Linked DNA regions of Homo sapiens: region 1 is linked to region 2. Evidence: promoter capture Hi-C in human tissues and cell types (Jung and others, 2019). All regions are on one chromosome and are shown on one strand. The core of a region is centred on a gene start or on the middle of the fragment in contact, and the rest is flanking DNA. Distances in the headings are between cores, read along the strand shown. Region 1 has its middle 7.4 kb from the start of MIR1268A. Region 2 holds the start of OR4N4 (olfactory receptor family 4 subfamily N member 4).

Region 1 (4,552 bases), core at 463-2,962, 120 kb after region 2:
GTGAGGGAGCCAGGCCTCGGGGGCCCAGCCTGGATTCTGCCGACTCCCATCCCTCAGCCTCACCAAGAGGCCACTGACTTCGTCACTGCACAGAGATCCCATCCTGGGGTTCTGGGGCCTGTGCAGGAGAAACACAGGTGCAGGGCCACGTGCCCACACCGCTGGCATCTGTGCTCCACAACCAAACTCCTAGAGCCATCATCATCTCTGGGCTGCAGTGCCCGCCGGTGACAACTCCCTGACCACCTCGCTGTGGTCACACTCCTGTCCCCGTGGGTAGAAAATCCAGTGATGCGTGTAGACAAAGAGCCCTCTGCACACCTGGAACCCCAGCGCCTTGGGAGGCCCAGGTGGGGGGATCACCTGAGCTCAGGAGTTTGAGACCAGCCTGGGCAACATGGCAAAACCTCATCTCTAGGAAAAATTTAACCATCAGACGGACACGGTGGTGCACACCTGTAATCCCAGCTACTAGGAAGGCTGAGGCAGGAGAATCGCTTGAACCCGGGAGGCAGAGGTTGCAGTGAGCCGAGACCGCACCACTGCACTCCAGCCTGGGTGACAGAGCAAGACCCTGTTTCAAAAAAAAAAAAAAAAAAACCATTTAGCCATTTGCATGATGAGGACCATAGAGAATAAAAAATAAAATGAAAAGAATCTCAACAACTCACTCTCCAATTCCTTTAGGAAAATGAAATGAGAAACATACACATGTAAAGTATTTAGTATTCCCTGCAGTTTAAGAAACAGAATCCAGGGCCAGGCGAGGTGGCTCACGCCTGTCATCCCGGCACTTTGGGAGGCTGAGGCGGGTGGATCACCTGAGGTCAGGAGTTCGAGACCAGCCTGGCCAACATGCTGAAACCCCATCTCTACTAAAAGTACAAAAAGTAGTAGCCGGGTGTAGTGGCACATACCTGTAGTCCCAGCTACTCGGGAGGCTGATGCAGGAGAATCACTTGAACCCAGGAGGTGGAGCTTGCAGTGAGTCGAGATCGCGACACTGCACTCCAGCCTGGGTGGCAGAGCAAGACTCTGTCTCCAAAAAAGAAAAAAGAAAAAAAGAATCCTTGTCAGTCTACGGACAAGAATGCCAGTACCACACCATCATGATGAGGGTCACTTCTGTGGGACACACAAGACACAGCTCACACCTGCCCCTACACACAGCTATTTCTGACCCCAAACAGCGAGGCAGTCACTTCAGACCCAAAAGGAAGGTGAAGCCTGCGGCCCTGCACCATCCGCGTGCCACTGCACTGACTTAAAGTTTCTCACGGGCTGGGTGTGGTGGCTCACGCCTGTAATCCCAGCACTTGGTGACGCCGAGGCAGGTGGATCACCTGAGCTCGGGAGTTCGAGACCAGCCTGGCCAACATGGTGAAACTCTGTCTCTACTAAAAATACAAAAATTAGCCAGGCATGATGGCAGGCACCTGTAATCCCAGCTACTCCAGAGACTGAGGCAGGAGAATGGCTTGAACCCGACAGGTGGAGGTTGTAGTTAGCCGAGATCATACCACTGCACTCCAGCCTGGGTGACACGGCGAGGATCCATCTCAAAAAATAAATAAATAAATAAAGCTTCTCGTGAATGATGAAACCAAAATTACCATCGCGTCTGCACTGTATGGATCTGTCTGCTACAACCAGCAGGACCACAGCCAGGCTGCAACTCACTTTCTTTACAAAAAGCACCAGGGATGACCAGGAATTAGTCCCCACCAGGTGACACTCACAGCCTTACCCACACGTAGGAGCCCCACGGACATATGGATCAAATACAATACGAGAGACACACATCTCACCCCATTCTGTGCAGCCAACACAGTGCACATTCAGCATACGGTTTGGTTTGCTTTTTGTTTTTTTCTGAGACCGGGTCTCACTCTGCCTCCCAGGCTGGAGCGTGGTGGTGCAATCTCAGCTCACTGCAGCCTCCACCTTCTGGGCTCGAGTGATCTTCTCACCTCAGCTTCCTGTGTAGCCAGGACCACAGGTCCCACGCCCAGCTAATTTTTTTTTTAAGAGATAGGGTCTCACTATGTTGCCCAGGCTGGTCTTGAACTCCTGGGCTCAAGCAGCCCTCCCCATTTGGCCTCCCAAAGTGCTTGGCACAGGGTAGATTTTAAGTTAAAAATCTCACAAAACAGGCCGGGTGCAGTCTTATGCCTGGAATCCAGCACTTTGCAAGCCCGATTGGGGTGTTTTTTTTAGTAGAGATGGGTTTTCGCCACTGGAATCCAGCACTTTGGGAGGCCAAGTGGGGAGGGCTGCTTGAGTCCAGGAGTTTGAGACCAGCCTGCAGAGCATAGGCTCAGAGACTCTGTCTCCATGAAAAAAAGGCACACACACACACACACACATGCACACACACGCACAGGTGTGGTGGTGGACGCCTGTAGTCCCAGCTATTTAGGAGGCAGAGGTGGGAGGATTGCTTGAGCCCAGGTGGTAGAGGCTAAAGTGAGCTGTGATCACACCACTGCACTATCTAGCCTGGGCAACACAGCAGAAACGTGCCTCGAAAAATTAAACGTTTACAGGCCAGGCACGGTGGCTCACACCTGTAATCCCAGCACTTTGGGAGGCCAAGGTGGGTGAATCACCTGCAGTCAGAAGTTTGAGACCAGCATGACCAACATGGAGAAACCCCATCTCTACTAAAGATACAAAAAAATTAGCAGGGCATGGTGGTACATGCCCGTAATCCCAGCTACTCAGGAGGCTGAGGCAGGAGAATCGCTTCAACTCGGGAGGCAGAGGTTGCAGTGAGCTGAGATTGCGCCACTGCATTCCAGCCTGGGTGACAGAGCAAGACTCCGTCTAAAAAAAAAAAAAAAAAGTTTAGAAAACAATATACATAATATGAATTTTTTTTCCTAAGACAGAATTTCGCTTGTTGCCCAGGCTGGAGTGCAGTGGTGCAATCTTGGCTCACCGCAATCTCCGCCGCCCAGATTCAAGCGTTTCTCCTGCCTCAGCCTCCCGAGTAGCTGGGATTACAGGCATGCACCACCATGCCTGGCTAATTTCTGTATTTTAGTAGAGACGGGGTTTTACCACATTGGCCAGGTTGGTCTCGAACTCCTGACCTCAGGTGATCCCCCTGCCTGGGCCTCTCAAAGTGCTGGGATGACAGGCGTGAGCCATTGTGCCTGGCCATGAATCCAGTTTTGATACAATTTTGAGAAACACAAATGTCTATATACAGACATACACAGGTATATCTATTATCCATGCATGCGTGCCTACACACACTCACAAATGTGTGTGTGCATGTGTGTATACTTATACATTTTGGTGATATTTGGTGATATTCTTCTAGCCCCATATAGGACTGCAGGAACATAACCAAATCTTTTTTTTTTTTTTTTTTGAGATGGAGTCTTGCCCTGTCACCCAGGCTGGAGTGCAGTGGCACAATCTTGGCTCACTGCAACCTCCACATCCCAGGTTCACGCCATTCTCCTGCCTCAGCTTCCTGAGTAGCTGGGACTACAGGTGCCTGCCACCACGCCCGGCTAAATTTTTGTATTTTTAGTAGAGACAGAGTTTCACTGCGTTAGCCAGGATGGTCTCCATCTCCTGACCTCGTGATCCGCCCGCCTCGGCCTCCCAAAGTGCTGGGATTACAGGCTTGAGCCACTGCACCCGGACAACCAAATCTTAACAATGCTTATCTCAGGGCCGGGTGCAGTGGCTCACACCTGTCATCTCAGCACTTTGGGAGACCGAGGCAGGCGTATCACCTAGGTCAGGAGTTCGAGACCAGCCTGGCCAACATGGGGAAACCTCGTCTCTACTAAAAATATGAAATATTAGCTGGGCGTGGTGGTTGGTGCCTGTAATCCCAGCTACTCGGGAGGCTGAGGCAGGAGAATCGCTTGAACCCAGGAGGCAGAGGTTGCAGTGAGCCAAGGTTGTGCCATTGCACTCTGGCCTGGGCAATAAGAGCAAAACTCTGTCTCAAAAAAACAAAACAAAACAAAAAGAAAAACAAACTTGCAAACCTATTATAAAACAGCCACCCCCTGGCTGGGCACAGGGGCTCACGCCTGTCATCACAGCACTTTGGGAGGCCAAGGCGGGTGGATCACCTGAGTTCGGGAGTTTGAGACCAGCCTGGCCAGCATGGAGAAACCCCCATCTCTACTAAGAATACAAAATTAGCCAGGCGTGGTGGCAGGTGTCTGTAATCCCAGCTACTTGGGAGGCTGAGGCAGGAGAATCACTTGAACCCAGAAGGCAGAGGCTGCAGTGAGCCGAGATCTTGCCATCGCACTCCGGCCTGGGCAACAAGAGCAAAAGTCTGTCTCAAAAAAAAAAAAAAAAAGAAAAAAAGAAAAACAAATTTTCAAACCTGTTATAAAACAGCCACCCCCTTGGCCTGACGTCATGCCTCACGCCTGTCATCCCAGCACTTTGGGAGGCTGATGCAGGCCTTGAACTCAGGATTTTGAGACCAGCCTGGCCAACGTGGTAAAACCCTGTCTCTACCAAAAATACAAAAGTTAGCCAGGTGTGGTGGTGCATGTTTGTAATCCGAGCT
Region 2 (4,682 bases), core at 1,359-3,858:
AAACCAACTTAAGTAAAAGTATAACTTAAAAAATGAAGTGTAGAAATATTTAGCGAGATGGGAGGGGAAGATAATAAAATAAATATTTTAAAAGGAGGCATGAGGAAATATAAAGAAAAATGAGTGAATTAGTGCCTGTGGATGGGAATCAAATCTCCAAATACCTGCTCCATGAACTTTTTAACAAGAGCCTGGACTCTAAACGTGAACAGTGCATAGCGCAGCCTTTATCTGGAATGTGTGTGTGCCCCCACCCATCACTCTTTCCTCTTCTGTGCTGCTCCAGCATTGTCAGGAACAGATGAAATTTTGTTTCTGTTGAAATTGAAATATAGGATAGAGGGAGTGGCAGTCATTCAGATTTCTATTTCAGCTTCCACTGACAGTGATCCTTCTAACATTGTTATGTTCTTCTAATATAGTTAGACAAGACCAAGCTTGTCTTTGCAGGAATTTCTGTGCTTTTATTTTGCTAGGACTTACTTCATTTTACCTAGAGGAATGTCCACCTTATGAATATATATATTTGGTTTCTGGATCCATAATGAGCATGATGTGAGCACTATCCATATAACAAAAGAGCTTAGAGGGAAGCACACAAAGGGAACACAGTGAATCAAAGATATTTGATGGTAGAGGGTTCCAGATGTTACAGAGTCAGTAGGAGAACAGAAGTGGATAACAGGGAATAAAATGCAAGGTACAGTGCAAGAACCTGAAACTCCCAATCTCAGAGATACTTGAAAGTTTCTTCTATGACCCAAATACATCCTCAATTTTTGAAAGAGTATGAAATAACCAACTGCATAATAACATGCAAGATGTACACAACTTAAGAGTAAGCAGAGAGGGATTCCCGACTTTTCTATTAGCAGGTTTTATATGCACAGAAAGACTGATAAATATTAAGGTCAATAAATGGCCAAGTGCCAAAAAAAAAAAAAAAGAAAAGAAGAAGGGTATCATATGTAAAATTTTATGCTTCTGTTTTGGTTAGGATACGTGTGTTTGCGTGTATTTATTTGTGTCTGTGTGATGTACATACATGTGATGTAAGATACTTTTTTCTGTTTGAGACAGAGTCTTGCTCTGTCACCCAGGCTGGAGTGCAGTGGTACAATATGGACTCACTGCAACCTCCACCTCCCAGGTTCAAGCGACTCTCATGCTTCAGCCTCTGAAGTAGCTGGGACTACAGGCTCCTGCCACCACGCCCAGCTAATTTTTATATTTTTAGTAGAGTCAGGGTTTTGCCAGGCTGGTCTCGAACTCTTGGCCTCAAGTGATCCACCTGCTTTGGCCTCCAAAAAGGGTGGGATTACAGGTGTGGGCCACAGTGCCTGGCCTAGGTACTTCTTTCATAATTCCCAATTCTGACCATACCTGAAAACCTCTGCTATTAATTAATATATTAGGATTAGATATATTTTGAAAAGCATATCTTTTGATGTTTTAAATAGATGTGCCATTATAAATATTTTCTTTGATTTCTTAATTCGGGACTTTATTGTTTTTGTTTCCCTCTCTTCTTACACACCGACTCCTCATTCAGTTAGTTAATGAACCTCTTTCCCTCTACGCTTCATAGTCCACATTATTTTAAAACAAATGTGCTGTGTAACAGAAGCATATGAAATATTTTTCTGTATCACATTGTAGTATTTTGTTCTAGCTCAAGATCTTTAGCTTTTAAATTTTTTTATTTCAACCACAAACCATTTTTTGAACATGCACCAAAAACATACGTATCTTCTTTATGCATTTCATATCCAATTACATCATGATTCTATATAAATGTAAAATGTTCAAAAATAAAACTTCAAACAATAGGATACAATAATGTAAGTGTAGAAATTCTCCTATTATTGCTTTCATACCAATAAATTATCATGCACATCCCCAAGCATGAGCACAGTCTCAATTTGGAAGCCACTGTACAGAGAAGCCTCAGATCTTGTTTTCTCCAGAGTGACTGAGAGCTTTTTATTTAGACCAGTTCATTTGGTTGATGTTCTATAGAGAAAAGGGAATTATTTCTGGTAAGTACAGTTGCCTTTATAAAAGTTTTTAGATAAACATTCCTAAGGTAGCATTTATATAAAATAAATTGTACTAATTGCTGTATAGTTCAATACTCAATAAATTTTGACAAAAATAGATACATATAACCATTATAATTAAAAACGGAACATTTCTGTCCCCTTGAAAAGTTCTGTCATTCTTCTTTGCTGTCAATCCCAGCTCATCTTCCATTCAAAGCAAAACATGAAGTCCTCAATAACTGGGGTTAAGTTTTTTCTCAGTCAGAAAAATTTTCATATGCCTCATACAAATCAGGAACAAATTCAGAGCAGTAACATCCAAGTCTCACATGAGTGAACACTTAAACAGAAGCACAGGACTGAAACAGAAGAAAGAGTGTGGCTTCAGGACCAGGGTGTTGGCTATCATGAAATGAGGAAGCATAAACAGTAGAAGTGATTTCTTAGGTTGTTGAGATAGATAGAATAATATAAATGTGGCATACCTTGTGTTTAGTTCAAGAACTATAATCTAGATGTAACACCTGAAAATAAACTCTTTTATTGATATTCTACAGGCAGAAGAAATGAAGATAGCAAACAACACAGTAGTGACAGAATTTATCCTCCTTGGTCTGACTCAGTCTCAAGATATTCAGCTCTTGGTCTTTGTGCTGATCTTAATTTTCTACCTTATCATCCTCCCTGGAAATTTTCTCATTATTTTCACCATAAGGTCAGACCCTGGGCTCACAGCCCCCCTCTATTTATTTCTGGGCAACTTGGCCTTCCTGGATGCATCCTACTCCTTCATTGTGGCTCCCAGGATGTTGGTGGACTTCCTCTCTGAGAAAAAGGTAATCTCCTACAGAGGCTGCATCACTCAGCTCTTTTTCTTGCACTTCCTTGGAGGAGGGGAGGGATTACTCCTTGTTGTGATGGCCTTTGACCGCTACATCGCCATCTGCCGGCCTCTGCACTGTTCAACTGTCATGAACCCTAGAGCCTGCTATGCAATGATGTTGGCTCTGTGGCTTGGGGGTTTTGTCCACTCCATTATCCAGGTGGTCCTCATCCTCCGCTTGCCTTTTTGTGGCCCAAACCAGCTGGACAACTTCTTCTGTGATGTCCGACAGGTCATCAAGCTGGCTTGCACCGACATGTTTGTGGTGGAGCTTCTAATGGTCTTCAACAGTGGCCTGATGACACTCCTGTGCTTTCTGGGGCTTCTGGCTTCCTATGCAGTCATCCTCTGCCATGTTCGTAGGGCAGCTTCTGAAGGGAAGAACAAGGCCATGTCCACGTGCACCACTCGTGTCATTATTATACTTCTTATGTTTGGACCTGCTATCTTCATCTACATGTGCCCTTTCAGGGCCTTACCAGCTGACAAGATGGTTTCTCTCTTTCACACAGTGATCTTTCCATTGATGAATCCTATGATTTATACCCTTCGCAACCAGGAAGTGAAAACTTCCATGAAGAGGTTATTGAGTCGACATGTAGTCTGTCAAGTGGATTTTATAATAAGAAACTGAGAAGGAGGAATTCTGGCTGGAATTCATATCATTCATTTAACAAGTCCTGTTTTTCACTGAGTACCTCCCATTTGCCAGGTACCATTGTAGGCAATGGAGGAGAGTTATGCATAATGAGAGAATAAACTTATTATATTTAAAGAATATAAAGGAAACCCCAGAGTGGTTGAAGTATAATGAGTAAGTGTGAGAAATTTAAGGGTTAAGTTTTATGTGACTGCAAGGGTCTTTCGGTCTGAGGTAAGAATTTTTTCATATTTTAATTGTGGTAAGAACCCATTTTAATGTTTTAAGCAAAGGAGCAGTTCATCTACAATGCTTTCCTCTACTGGTTAGAGCAACATCAGCAAGATTTTAGGCAGAGATTAATAAACTGTAAAATATCAAAAACCAAATGTATGTTGCAAGTATGTTATGAAAAAGACTATAGTATTTTATATATATAAATATATTAAAATTATATATATTTTAATGTTTTTATATATATTTTATATATATGTATATTTACATATATATAAAATAAGTAATATATTTTTATATATTTATAAATATATATTTTTATATATTTATAAATATATATTTTTATATATTTAATCAATATATAAATAAATATATATTTCCCCCCCAAAATTTGGTGGCGAGATAAGAAAGGAAGCCAATTTGTTTCATGGTAAAATGTCATGAAATTATTTCACTTATTTTTTCTTCAGAGCTTCACGATGATTATTAGACATTATTAGATATTTAGTACTTCAGATTGTATTACAGATTACATAAATCACTCCAGTTATTTTCAACATAGTGAAGCAGCTTCGTTGTCTGGGGAAATACCTGCAGTTCGTTGTCTTGTGCTGTGCCGATTAATGACACAGACTCACACACGGAGTGGGTTAAGGAACAGAAAGTTTATTAGGCAAGAAGGAAGAGAAGAGCTTCCCCATACAGAGGGAGAAGCACTCTGAATGGAGTAACCCCACTTGTGGGGAAAGCAGTCAGTTATATTGGGAGGCTCAGGGAGGTAGTGTCTGATTTGCATAGGGCCCAGGGGATTCCTTTGACCAGGTGTGTCATTCACACAACCCATGAAAAGACTGGCCCTCCCACCCTAATCTTTTATTCTGCA

The links. The method cuts DNA at HindIII sites, captures the fragments that hold promoters and counts their contacts. A contact is called where the count stands out against the background at its distance.
Region 1: a contact is called between a fragment that was not itself captured here and the fragment with the promoter of OR4N4 in region 2, in 4 of the 25 tissues and cell types used here (lymphoblastoid cells, pancreas, small bowel and 1 more).

What each region holds. Positions count from the first base shown.
Region 1 is chr15:22,215,618-22,220,169 of GRCh38, forward strand. No RefSeq gene overlaps it. Among named protein-coding and RNA genes, the nearest start is that of MIR1268A, 7.4 kb to the right of the region's middle. The HindIII fragment of the contact is 7,776 bases long and covers 1-4,552 here.
Region 2 is chr15:22,091,914-22,096,595 of GRCh38, forward strand. OR4N4 (olfactory receptor family 4 subfamily N member 4) reads left to right here and starts at 2,609. Exons shown (of 1, transcript NM_001005241.4): 1 at 2,609-3,949. The coding sequence starts at 2,609. The coding sequence ends at 3,559. It overlaps OR4M2-OT1 (OR4M2 overlapping transcript 1), which reads left to right. Exons shown (of 9, transcript NR_110480.2): 8 at 2,600-2,878; 9 at 3,438-3,705. RefSeq lists an enhancer at 2,237-3,436. The HindIII fragment of the contact is 10,782 bases long and covers 1-4,682 here.